Regions from separate parts of the Homo sapiens genome. Here all the other regions are linked to region 2. The links are contacts of gene promoters, found by promoter capture Hi-C in blood cells and fetal thymus (Javierre and others, 2016). All regions are on one chromosome and are shown on one strand. Each heading gives the region's core, a stretch centred on a gene start or on the middle of the fragment in contact. The rest is flanking DNA. Distances are from core to core; before and after follow the strand shown. Region 1 overlaps ZNF175 (zinc finger protein 175). Region 2 holds the start of FPR3 (formyl peptide receptor 3). Region 3 has its middle 10 kb from the start of SIGLEC6.

Evidence for each region. The method cuts DNA at HindIII sites, captures the fragments that hold promoters and counts their contacts. A CHiCAGO score of 5 or more calls a contact.
Region 1: a fragment that was not itself captured here is called in contact with the fragment with the promoter of FPR3 in region 2 in 1 of 17 cell types (monocytes); the score reaches 5.2 in monocytes.
Region 3: a fragment that was not itself captured here is called in contact with the fragment with the promoter of FPR3 in region 2 in 1 of 17 cell types (monocytes); the score reaches 6.1 in monocytes.

What each region holds. Positions count from the first base shown.
Region 1 is chr19:51,579,374-51,584,199 of GRCh38, forward strand. ZNF175 (zinc finger protein 175) reads left to right here. Exons shown (of 5, transcript NM_007147.4): 3 at 2,018-2,144; 4 at 2,414-2,509. Among named protein-coding and RNA genes, the nearest start is that of ZNF175, 11 kb to the left of the region's middle. The HindIII fragment of the contact is 179 bases long and covers 1,484-1,662 here.
Region 2 is chr19:51,792,446-51,796,592 of GRCh38, forward strand. It overlaps FPR3 (formyl peptide receptor 3), which reads left to right and starts at 2,712. Exons shown (of 2, transcript NM_002030.5): 1 at 2,712-2,886. The HindIII fragment of the contact is 12,110 bases long and covers 1-4,147 here.
Region 3 is chr19:51,539,979-51,544,126 of GRCh38, forward strand. No RefSeq gene overlaps it. Among named protein-coding and RNA genes, the nearest start is that of SIGLEC6, 10 kb to the left of the region's middle. The HindIII fragment of the contact is 6,858 bases long and covers 1-4,148 here.

The DNA of each region.
Region 1 (4,826 bases), core at 323-2,822, 210 kb before region 2:
TCGTGCCACTGCAATCCAGCTTGGGCAACAGAGTGAGATTCTATCTCCCAAAAAAAATTTTTTTTTTTTGAGGAAAAGTGTTTTTTAACCCAGTAGAAAACTGAAGAAGAGACTTGCTTGAATAGGCTGGTAAACATGGGAAGATGCTCAGCTTCATTAGTCATCTGGGAATTGCCAGTGTAACTCCCATGCCTGTACCAAAATGCATACAGTTACCAACACTGATAATACCAAATGTAGGTGAGGATACAGAGCAACCAGAAGGATTTTGTGTGCTGCTGGTAAGCATATAAATTGGTACAACCAATTTGGAAAATGATTTCTAATTTTCTACTAAAGGCGAGCATGTTTTTCCCATGACCCAGAATTCCACCCCTGGGTATATGCCCAACATCTGTTCTGAACTGGTATTTAAATGTAGACCTGTGCTGTCCAGTATGGTAGCCACTCACCACATGTAGCTATTGAGCACTTGAATGCGGCTGGTTCACCCTGAGATGTGCTTGAAGTATAAAATATATGCTGACTTCTGAAAACTTAGTATGAAAACAGAATGTAAAGCATCTCATCTCGATGATTTTTAAAATATTGAATATAGAATATTCAATATATAGAATATAGAATGTTTTAATATATGTAATATTAAAATATTACATATAGAAATGATAATGTTTTGAATATAATGGATTAAGTAAAAATATCATTAAATTGATTTTATCTGTCTTTTAAACATGGCTACTAGACAATTTTAAGTTATATGTGTGGCTCACATTCACGGTTCATGTTTTATTTCCATTGGATGGCTCTCCTCTAGAGGCTTGATCAGAGTCCACTTGGATTTCTTTGTTTTTGGAAATGATACTTAATAGTTTGCACACCACGTATTTTCCTACCTCTCTACTTTTATTTTTTTATTTTGCATCATATTAGGTGCACTTTAATATCTGGTTATCTCTCTCCTTGTGATAAAATTGATGATTGGGTTCAGATATTGTCAGCCTACTCCTCCATTATAAAGACCCATCAGTCTTTCATATGGTTTTAGCAGTCATTGGTGATCAGTAACAGTGACATTTTTGTTTTGTCCTTCAGGCTGCATTTATCATCTGCAGTACTTCTGTAATGAAGATCTTTCCATCATCAGTCCTTTCATTAACCTAATATTAGTTATTACAGGAGAGATCATCTTGTTGAAATATTATATGATCATATCTCTTCCCTGCACTTAAAATCCTGAAATGGCAGTCCGTTCATTAAAATAAATAATCCATACCCATTATATATTGAGGCACCAGCCCACTTCTTTGGAGCTTGGATGGTAACCACCTTCCAAACATGACATAGTCGCCTCTTATCTTACACAGAGCTGTCTGCTTCTCCCTGAATTCACAGTGTTTTCCTACCTCTCTAGTTTTATTCATGCTCTTTTCTGGAAAATGATTTCCTTCACACATCCTGCATCACAGTTCTTACTTCCAGCGTAAGCTTCACCAACTCTAAGTAGCATTACCTTCTACTCCTAGGTAGAATTTGCCTTTCCCTAATTTGCCCTTCCCCAACAGTGTCCTCTGCATATATTTCTACCATGTTCCCTTTTTAACCCTGTAGTTGAGCTTTTGTATTTACATGTCTTCCAAGTCTCTGAGTTGCTGCAAGAGTAGAAGCTTATGTAATTCTGTGTTGAGCACCAGAACCCAGCTCAACTACAGCCTCACATGTAGTTGCTTCGTCAACATCATGCTGGTTATTCCTAAATTAGCTAAAGGACTTAGAGGGAACCCATTTCTGGCCTCATTTTTGAAAAAAAAAAATGAATGAATGAATGTAGGTGTACAGTGGATGGAGGATATTTCTCTTATTTTTTTTTAAATCCCTAAAAATGTGAAATAGGTGTTTGGTGGGAAGCCTCTGTGATGGATCGTGGTGAAAATCATTAAAAGCATGTTCCTCCTATATGTGCCATCCCCACTCGCCAATGATGACCTAATTCACAGTGAGCTGGGGTACACTGTTACAGGCATCAGTGTCATTTGAGGACGTGACCGTGGACTTCAGCAGGGAGGAGTGGCAGCAACTGGACCCTGCCCAGAGATGCCTGTACCGGGATGTGATGCTGGAGCTCTATAGCCATCTCTTCGCAGTGGGTGAGCACAACTGACCTGGGAATCTTGGCTGGATCCTGTTGAGGAGATTTCCTTCCTCCTCATTGCAGAACGCAGTGGGATATCAAAGTATGTCATGACTCTTTTATCGGTTTGTCCTGGATTGTTTGTTTCTTTTGGGCACCTTCTAGTATTATTTTGTGCCCAGTGGAAAATGTTGACTTTTCTAATGAGCCAGTGTAAAGCTTCATTGAATGGCCTCTAAAACTGAAGAAGCTACACCCAAATCCAGTATCCTTTCTAATTAACAGGGTATCACATTCCCAACCCAGAGGTCATCTTCAGAATGCTAAAAGAAAAGGAGCCGCGTGTGGAGGAGGCTGAAGTCTCACATCAGAGGTGTCAAGGTGAGTAAGTTGTACCCGGGCAAATGTAGATATCTTTGCAGGGAACCATTACCAGTCTACCATACTTTTCTATTCCCTCCATTCCCCCAGTGATGGCCCGTAGATTGCCTCCTACTCCCAGTTTCCCATCAAACACTGTAAATGTGCTATAAATGTTAAATGTCCTATAGGGGCTGCCTTAAGAATTTTCCATTGGTGAATACTCAGGAATGGGATTGCCTGGTCCTGGAGATAAGTATACTTGACTAAATCAACCATATTGCTCTTCTGATGGGCTGCACCAGTTCACACTCCCCATGTGCAGTGCACAAGGATTTGCATTTGCACATCTTGCTTGCTAACACTTGGCATTAACAAAATTGGTGAATTTATAGCCCTACTGATAGGTGAAAGGGCTGTTTCATTTTTTTTTGTTTTTGGTTTTGGTTTTTTTGAGACAGAGTCTCACTCTGTCACCTAGGCTAGGGTGCAGTGGCACGATCTTGGCTTACTGCAACCTCTGCCTCCTGGGTTCAAGTGATTCTCCTGCCTCAGCCTCCCGAGTAGCTGGGACTACAGGCACCCGCCACCACACTCGGCTAATTTTTTGTATTTTTAGTAGAGACAGGGTTTCACCCTGTTAGCCAGGATGGTCTCGATCTCCTGACCTTGTGATCTGCCCACCTCGGCCTCCCAAAGTGCTGGAATTATAGGCGTGAGCCACCGCACCCAGCCTGTTTCATTGCTTAAGTGTTATTTTTCTAATAACTGAATGGTGAGAGCCTCTCATCTTATCTGTTATCTGATTGGCTTTTTCATTTGTTTGTTGCATTTTCTTACCGCTTATCTCTTTACGTCCATGGAGTTTTCTGCCTTTTTTTTCCAGTTTTTTTGCCCCTAATTTTATTTATTTTCTTTTCTTTGCTGGATCTGCTGTCTTCTTTTCCTCCCAGTTGTGGCACCTCTAGCTTGGGGCCCTGTTCTTCCATATGGGCATCTTTTCTTTTTTTTGAGGCAGAGTTTCACTCTTGTTGCCCAGGCTGGAGTGCAATGGCACGATCTTGGCTCACCGCAACCTCCGCCTCCCAGGTTTGAGTGATTCTCCTGCCTCAGCCTCCCAAGTAGCTGTGATTACAGGCATGCACCACCATGCCCGGCTAATTTTGTATTTCTAGTAGAGACGGGGTTTCTCCTTGTTGGTCAGGCTGGTCTCGAACTCCCGACCTCAGGTGTTCCGCCTGGCTTGGCCTCCCAAAGTGCTGAGATTACAGGCGTGAGCCACCGTGCCCGGCTATGGGCATCTTTTCCCACAGGAATTGACTTAAAGGACCCATCCATTCTGAACTCTTAGTCCTCATATTTTTATTCTAATGATTTATATATCAGTACCTCTAGTCCCTGTGCTTAAACTGTGTTCTGCTACCTTACTTAGCTCCACGGAGGACAGTTCCCATGAGATGACTCACTTCCTTAATTTTGGGAGATCAGAAATTGGAATCATCATCATCCAAATAAGGAATTCTCACCTGATAAATTTTGTGAGATTTTTCTGTTTCTGGGCTCAGAAACACAGTCCTCTAATTTAATTTATTACTTTGGAATTCTTACCAGTTTTTCTTGTTTTAATTAAGAAAAAAGTGACCCTTTTTCTTAATCCCAGTGGTATTACAACAAACTAGATCCCCATTTTCTCATATTTAGACAATTTTGTTCCCAGTGAGATATGTTGATTTCAGGTTTTTGAGTTTAGTCAAGATACTGACAGATTTTATGACCCCAAACATGGCTATTTTGTTTCTTTTTTCCTCAGTAGATATGATAAAAACAGGCAGTTCTATTTCCTACTGTGTAGGATTAACAAATTCTTTTCAGTGATATTGTCCTCATGGCCACATATTTCCAATTTAAAAATATACCTGAATAGTTTTCATCACTCATGCTCTGCTCCATTGTTTTTGTATGTTGTTTAATGTCTACTCCATAGAATGATTCACTTTGCATACACTCTGCTGATTACTTTGTACTTTCTTAATCTTCATTATATCAATGTTTAGCATGAGGAAACCATTGTATTTAAGATATAGGATTAGGATTTTTGTATTTAGGATACAGAAATTACTGATTTTCTGAAAATGGGCAGAAAAGAATATTTCACAGTATTTTAAAAGGATGCTTTAAATATTTGCTGAGATAAATTCAAAAGAACGGAGATTGTATTTGGATGGAGAGGACAATGGCATTAAATGTTAAAAGTATTAGCCTTTGTGCATCAATCATGTCTATTTCATGGAAGGCTACTCAAAAAGTAAGTGTATCAACATGGGAAGCATGGATAGCA
Region 2 (4,147 bases), core at 1,462-3,961:
CAGGGTAAGGCACATGTCTGTTTAAGCTCTATGTCTGCAGGAGCCAGCAAGGGAGCACCTCTTCAGAGGCCTCATGCAATACCCACCACCCTTTATTATACTGATAAGTAAATTCCATTTTAATCAGGTGGCAGGTAGCAATGTGCCACTGTCCTAGGAAAGCAATCATGATTGGCCTAAGCCAATATGAGCAACTTGTCTTTTTTTTTTTTTTTTTTTTTTTTGAGGTAAGGTATTGCTCATTGCCCAGGCTCGAGGGCAGTGGCATCATCATGGCTCACTGCAGCCTCAACTTCCCTGACAAAGCAGTCCTCCCACTTCACCTCCTGAGTAGCTGGAACTACAGGTCCACACCACCACACCCAGCTAATATTTTTTTGGTTTTAGAGATGGGGTCTCACTATGTTGCCCAGGCTGGTCTTGAACTCCTGAGCTCAAGCAATCTTCCTGTCTTGGCCTCCCCAAATTCTGGCATTACAGGCGTGAGCCACTGTCCCTGACCTTTATTTTTATGTATCGGTATTTTTGTTATTTCTTGGCCATTGATTGGTCTAGAGATGGCATGCTCTGGCAATGAAAGACAAGGAGAGGTCCTGAAGAGACTCTGGACAAGGTTTCCCTCTGTAATAAAATGGAAGAGGCATGTGAATGAGTCACATTTTCTGCCTGTCTCATGATTCTGGCTCGGGAGGGCCTGTTGATGCAATGTCCAGAACAGTGGCAGCCATTCTGTGGTCACTTTCAAGAAAGCCCTAGAAGAAAACCAATATGATGATGGAGTGGAAGGGTGACATTAAACTCAATTTTTGTTCAAACTCCAGATCTATCCCCTTCCAAAACTTTTTTTAATAATAAATTTCTCCATGGCTTATGTGCTTCATTGGTTTACTCTACCTTATCACTGAAAACATCCAGTGAATCAGAGAGAAAATAGAAAATAGTTGACTCTTGTTTTGTGGCTCTCCACTGTTTTTCATGGTTCTATTCCTTGGGCTTGAGAACAACATTCTGATGGTGTTTAAAAACTCAGAAAGAGCCCATCTCCTTAGATCAGTAGTCCATAGAGCATCTCCCTAGGGGCAGAAGGTTAGGGGGTTAATCTCGGCAATGGTGTGGAGTGTACAGTGTCTCTCATTTACCTTCCTTACCTCTCTACATGCTCCTAGTTACTGCTTCTCTTTGTAACTCTGAGGTATGAAATACCTCAAAGCATATTTGATTTTGTCACAGATTTCTGGCACAGGGCTCTTAAAACCCTTGGAATTCCCTGAGTGATAGGAGTATTATTTGTTATTCATAAACAGCCCCTTTTGATCATAGCTGAGTTTATGCTAAGGAGATCATGGCCTTAGGATGGGACTGGTCACCAGAAAGACCAAGGGATTAGAGGGTTGGAGCTGTCAGCCCCACCTACTGATCTCCAGGAAGGGGAGGCAGGGACTGGAGATTGAGTTCCATAAAAACTCTTGAACAATGAGATTTGATGAGCTTCCACATTGGTGAACACTCAGGAGTGCTGGGAGAGTGGCTGCCTGAAGAGAGCATGGAAGCTCCATGCACCACCCAACCCCTTCCCTGCCATATACCTGCCATATGCCTCTTTCCAATGGACTATTCCTGAGGTATATTCCTTATATAAAGCAACAGATGCAAACAAAGTGCTTTCCTGAGTTCTGTGTGCCATTCTAGCAATTTATTGGTGTCATTGGAACACCCAATTTATAGCCTGTCAGTCAGAAGTACAAGTAGCCACCTGGGACTTGCAACAGATGTCTGATCTGATCTGAGAACAGTTTGTGGGAGTGAGCCCTTTAGCTTTTCGGATCTGAGCTGAATCCAGGTAGACAGCATCATAACCGAATTTTTAATTGCAGGTGGCCCAGGTGGTGTCCCCAGAGAATTGGAGAATTTCTTGGTGTAGAGAAAAAGTATATTTGGTCAGAAGGATTGTGAAAGTAGAGAATCGAGTTTTTGTTTCACCGTGCATCTTTGTTTTTTTATTGTTTTTCCTCTCATTCTTCTCACCTTGGTAATTGTTTCTTTCATTTTCCTGAATCTCTGAAAAGAAAGGGCCTGGACTCTCAGATTTCTTGGCCTTTGATATTTGGAAGGATGAACTCCAGTCTCCCACAGAAGGCTAGAGGTGAAGGAACATTCAGACACATAAGTTTCCAAGATAAATCGTCTGAGAACATCTCCAAGGTGTCTTCTGGGAATGGTAAGAAACCCTGAGTTTGTGTCACTGGATTGATTCCAGCTCCATTGTCCCCGTGTCCTTCAACTAAGTCTCTGCTGAAGCCTGTTCTATAAAAACAGCAAGTAAGTGGTTTGGACTGACCTATTGTACTAGGTTCGACAAAGCAAACCAAATGGAGTCAGTCATACTAAAACTCCACATCACCAAACCAAAACTAATGTATCTGAACTTTTGAGAAATCAGGAGAGAGAGAAAATGGACAAATTCCTAAAACAGGCCAGTTTCAGTGGGCATGAACATGAAGTTCTGTCTGCTTTCATCTTTACAAAAAAAAAAAAAAAGCAATCTGTGGTAACTTGACTTCAATCAATCAGTTGTTCCTTATTGCTGTCTCTCTATTCCTGCTGCACAAAAAAAATGCAACATCCAGATGACCAATCAGGTTTTTGTTCTCTGTTTCTGCTTTCTTTAGCCCTCCTATCCCTGTAAAACCAACTTCCTTGGCTCTAACTATCAAAACACTCATTTTGTTTTATAGCATGACAGGCTGTCTGATTCCATCTTTATAACCAAAGCCAATTAAGATCTTAAAACCAAACATATAACTTCATCTTTTTACAAGTACTTAGAGCCTGAGTTGCTCCACAGGAATCCAGGAACTGGGCACAGGAAAAGGATCTAAGCTGGTGGTAAGTTGGGGTCTGAAAATTTTAAAGTTATTGTTGAAATGCCTGCTATATGACAGAGCCCTTCTAACTCTGGAGTAGCGTAGTCCAGTGAAGAATCCACTTCGTTAGTATGAAAACAATGTTAACTATTTCATTAACAGTGTTTAATTTGGTTACATGTTCCAGTAACATTCTTTTTTTTTTTTTTTTTTTTTTTTTTTTTGATGGAGTCTTGCGCTGTCACCCAGGCTGGAGTGCAGTGGCACAATCTCAGCCCACTGCAACCTCTGCCTCCCAGGTTCAAGCGATTCTCCTGCCTCAGCCTCCTGAGTAGCTGGGATTACAGGCACCTGCCACCACGCCTGGCTAATTTTTTGTATTTTTAGTAGAGACGGGGTTTCAATATGTTGGCCAGGCTGGTCTTCAACTCCTGACCTCGTGATCTGCCCACCTCGGCCTCCCAAAGTGCTGGGATTACAGGCGTGAGCCAATGTGACTGGCCAATTCTTTATCATATATGTAATTAAATAAAATTTATTACTAAAATAATTTCCCCAAAGGTGTTTTACTTTTTTAAAAACAGTGGCTACAAAAAAATTTTGAGTCCCATATGTAGCTAAAGTTAACACATTATATTTCTACTGGACATGTAGCATTGTAGAGATGTAGCATTGAAGGATCTTGATAGTCCTGTGGAGCTTACGTACTAGTGTGGAGGGTATTTAAGAGAGAAGATAAATGAACAAACAAATAAAGGAGAAAAGTATCTGGTGAGATAGGCTGTACCTGAGCATTCTGCTTTGCAGAGTGGGTGAGGTGGGATCTCTCTGAAATAATATTTGACCTGAAATATGAATATTCAGGATGAGCCAGGTGCAGGAAGCTCAAGACGAAGAGCACGGTAGGCAGAAGGAATAGAGAAAGCAGAAGCCCTGAGATGACAAAGAGCTGCAAGTTCAAGGAATTAGAGCCCAGTGGGTGGAGCCCAGTGTGTCTGATGAGAGTGCAGAGATGAGGTCTGAGGGATGCACAGGGCACATGTGGCAGTGGATAAGGGAACCTAGGATAAGGGAACCTAAGATAAGGGTAACTTAGAAGTCTGGAAGCCATCGGAAGGTATTGCGAATAACATCACCATCTTATTGGACCTTTTTAAAGCTCATTTGGTTTCTGTCTGGAGAATGGATCTTAGGGGAGGGGGCAGCAGGACCAGGAAAAAGCTATTTGCAAGGCTTGTGCAAATATCCAAGCCTGACAGGGCCATGGACACCGGTCGTGGAGA
Region 3 (4,148 bases), core at 1,502-4,001, 250 kb before region 2:
ACTATTAATGGGACTGTACGTTAGCACAGCCATTATGGAAAGCAGGAGGTTTGTCCTCCCAAAATTAAAAATGGAACTACCATATGATCCAGAAATCCCATTTATGGGTATCTATTGAAAGAAAACAAAAGAGACATTTGTACTCCCATGTTTACCAAAGTACTATCCACAATAGTCAAGATATGGAATCAACCTAAGTGTCCATCAATGGGTGAATGGATAAAGAAAATGTGGCATGTATACGCAAGAGAATATTATTCAGCTTTGAAAAGAAAGAAAATTTTGTCACTTGCAACAACATGGATGAACCTGGAGGACAATATGCCAAGTGAAATAAGCCAGGCACGGAAAGGCAAATACTTCGATTCTGCTTATATGAGGAATCTGTAGAAGTCAATTTCATAAAAGCAGAGGCTAGAACCCTGGTGATCAGGGGTGGAGGTTGGAGACAATGAAGAGATGTTAGTCAGAGGGTACCAAGTTTCAGGTAGACAAGAGGAATCTGGAAATCTCCTGTACTGCATGGTGACTATAGCTAATAATACTGTATCATATATTTCAATACTGCTAAGATAGTAAATTTCCAATGTTCTCATCACAAAACAAAACAAATATTGCTGGATACAAAGCAATCCTTTTGATGAGTATAAGGTGTTACTTTAAAGTGCAAAGGGGTTGATAAGTGTGAGATGGCAATGCATATATTAGCTTATTTCTTCATTACACAATGTACACATATTTTAAAGCATTATGTTACATATCATAAATATACACAATTTTATTTGTCTATTAAAATAGAATAATGATAAAACACAAAGGAAATGTCCACAAAACATCACATTGTATGCTGTAAATAAATACAATATTTATTTTTAATTACACCTCAATAAGGCTGGAAATATTGCTTTGAAAAATCCAAAGGCACCAGGCACGATGGCGGGTACCTGCTGTTCCCACTATTCAAGAGGCGGCTGTGAAGGAGGATAGCTTGAGCCCAGGAATTCCAGGCTACAGTGGGCTATGACAATCATACCTATGAAAAGCCACCACACTCCCACCTGGGCAACAAAGTAAGAACCTTCTAAAAAATATAATAAACAAATAAAATTTTAAAACTCCAGATGGAATCCAAATAAATTTTTGGAATTAATAAACAAAAAAACCTGCCGTTGCAAAGATCATGAGTGACAAAGGTGCCCACTTCTCCGTCTGTCCTCACCCCTGTCTCTCCTCATCTGTGGTCATCACTTTACTCCAGCTGTGCATTGAAACATCTCCATCCTGGACCCCTCTCCTGAGCTCCAGACATTTGCATTCAGCTGTCTCCCTCCTATCCCCATTCAGATGTCAGGGGGATTCTCAGAATTATCATCGCCCCTGAAAGCCACCCGTCTGCAGTCCTCCATGGACACAGCTCTTTCCTTCCAGGTGCTCAGAGGAACATTCTGGCCCCATCCTTGCTCTTCCCTTCCCCTCCCTGACAACACTCATTAGAAAATTCTGTGAGCCTGACCTTCCACTCACATCCAAAAACACATCCTTACCCCATCCTGCCTCCCTGGCTCAGCCCCATGCCTCCTCCTGGATGACCCAGCAGCACCTTCCCAGCCTCCTTGGCTGCCGTGACACACGCGGTTCTGCTCTGACCAGAGCAGCTGAGGGTCCTGTTAGAGTGAGAGTCCAGTCAAGCCTCTGCTCTCTCCAAAGGCTCCAGGTTCCTGCGTAGCCTCAGGGCCCCACGCAGGCTGCCCTGTCATCCCCGCTGCTCCCTCCTCTGCCTCCTTCTGCTCTCAGACTGGGGCTCTGGCTGTGTCTGCAATGCCCAGGCCTGCTGCTGCCTCTGAGCAATGCACTCACTGCTCCCCTTCCCTCTTGCTGGGATGCTTGTCTCTCATTCAGACACAGAGCCTCCCTGCTCAGCACCTTCATGCCTTTGCTCACACACCACCTCCCCTCATTATCAGATAAGAAACGGTTCCCCAGTCTATCTTATGTTTCTTTCCCTGCATGCTTTTTCTCCAAACACAGATCTCCACCCCACATGCTCTTATTTTATTTATTATTTCTTTTCATTTGTACTTTTCCTGTCTCTAGAATGATAGCTTCTTGAAGACAGAGATTTTTTTCGTGCTGTGTCTACTGATGAACCCCTGGTGCCAATAATAATGCTGACACATAATGGATGCTCAGTAGAGTCACTGAAGTTAGTCGCTTCGTGTCTATCACCAATAATGCCTCTGCTCCACTCAGAACCAAATAAGAATTACACACACACACATACACACACACATGCACACAACACACACACAACCCTGAGTGACATTAAGACTGAGCCTGAAGGACAATTGGGACCTAGATTGGCAGGAATGGGAGGGAAGGGCATTTCAGGAGAAGGAATTACACACGCAAAGTCTCAGAGCCACAGAGGGCTTGGCCTGCAGAGACTTTGGGTGGAGAGTCTGGCCAGGAACAGACTGTGCAAGGCCTCCATTCCAGGCTGTGGCATTTTCCCCTTGTTCTCCAGCACCAGAGAGGAAACACGGCTGCTCAGACTGTGGAGGAACTGGATGAGGAGGCATCTGGAAACGGAGTCTGGAGTCTGTGTTGGGAGAGATGGAGGCAGGAGGTGAGGAGGGCTCAGTGTTCAGGGAGGAGGCGAGGCCCCAGGCATGACCAGGGCCAAGATGGAGAAAAGGGCCCCAGGATGAACCCTGCTTAGAAGGAGGGACAAGAATTAGTGATTTGTGGGATCTGGAGGAGGGAGGGAGGTGAAGGTGAAGACCCATATCCTGGTTCTGACTTTAGAGATGGGAGCCACTATGTCATCAGTAGGATGGGGATCCCAGGAGAAGTGGGTTGGGGGAAGAAGATGGGCAGCTCAACTTAAGCCATACTGAGCAGAGCAATCCTGGAGGCCATTGAGGGGGAGGTGTCCAGTGGGATGTTGAGGATGAGATGCCCACAACCCCTGAGAGATTAGCCCGTGACAGGGTCTGCAGCCTCCACGCCTGCTGCTGCCCTTCCTTCCTGCAGAAACTGACAGTGAGTAAAAAGACAAAGGCCTGCCAGTGTGGCCGGATCGGGGTGCAGAGGGCAGCAGACTCATCTCCCCGTGCCCTGCTAAGGGGCAGGAGGGGACTGGGGTGGAGAGAGCAGGCCTAGCCCCCAGAACCTCCCTAATGAGAGCAGGAACCTCCCAGCCCGGACATTCAGTGAAAGCCGAGGTCAGACAACAATTGGTCCATGTGGAATTCTCGCCACAATTCAGCCTACTGCCTGGCCCTCTTGAGCCTTCAGATTCCTCCAGCACTGGGACCTGGGATTCAGCACCATGTCCCCTGTACTCCCCACATCTCTCCTTGGTCCCTGGGGCAGCGCTCAGCTGAGGAAGAGGAAGCAGAGGCAGATAGGCAGGATCTTCACAGCCGCCTCCCCGACAGCCACCAAGACCACCTCCACCACAGGCCCTGATTTCAAAAAGTTTTGCCCCGGCTGGGAGCAGTGGCTCACACCTGTATCCCAGCACTTTGGGATGCTGAGGTGGGCAGATCACTTGAGGCCAGGAGTTCAAGACCAGCTTGGCCAACATAGCAAAACCCTGTCTCTACTAAAAATACAAAAGAAATTACCTGGGTGTGGTGGCACATGCCTGTAATCCCAGCTGCTAGGGAGGCTGAGGCACAAGAATTGCTTGAACCTGGGAGGCAGAGGTTGCAGTGAGCCAAGATCACACCACTGCAGTCCAGCCTGGGCAACAGAGTGAGACTCTATCTCAAAAAATAAAAAAAAAAGTTTTGCCCCACAATGGGTAGGTGAATACATACACTTTTACCCCTCCCTGTTGCGCGTGTAACCTTGTTCACCTTCATGGGTTCTCCATGGCCATATTTTTTCAAAATTAGAAAGAACATATGACCCAACTATTTTGCATTTAAGAACTGATTTCACAGGCATAGATGTACACTTGTGGCAGTAGATACAAGATTATTTATTGCAGTGTTACTGTTGGTAAGATAAAATTAGTGCCATGATATTCCATTAGGCACAAAATCAGAGTCCACATTTTTGATGCCACGAAATTGGAGTCCATCCACACAGTGGAATCACCCACAGTACTGGAGGAGAGTAATGTCACTCTGATGTCACTA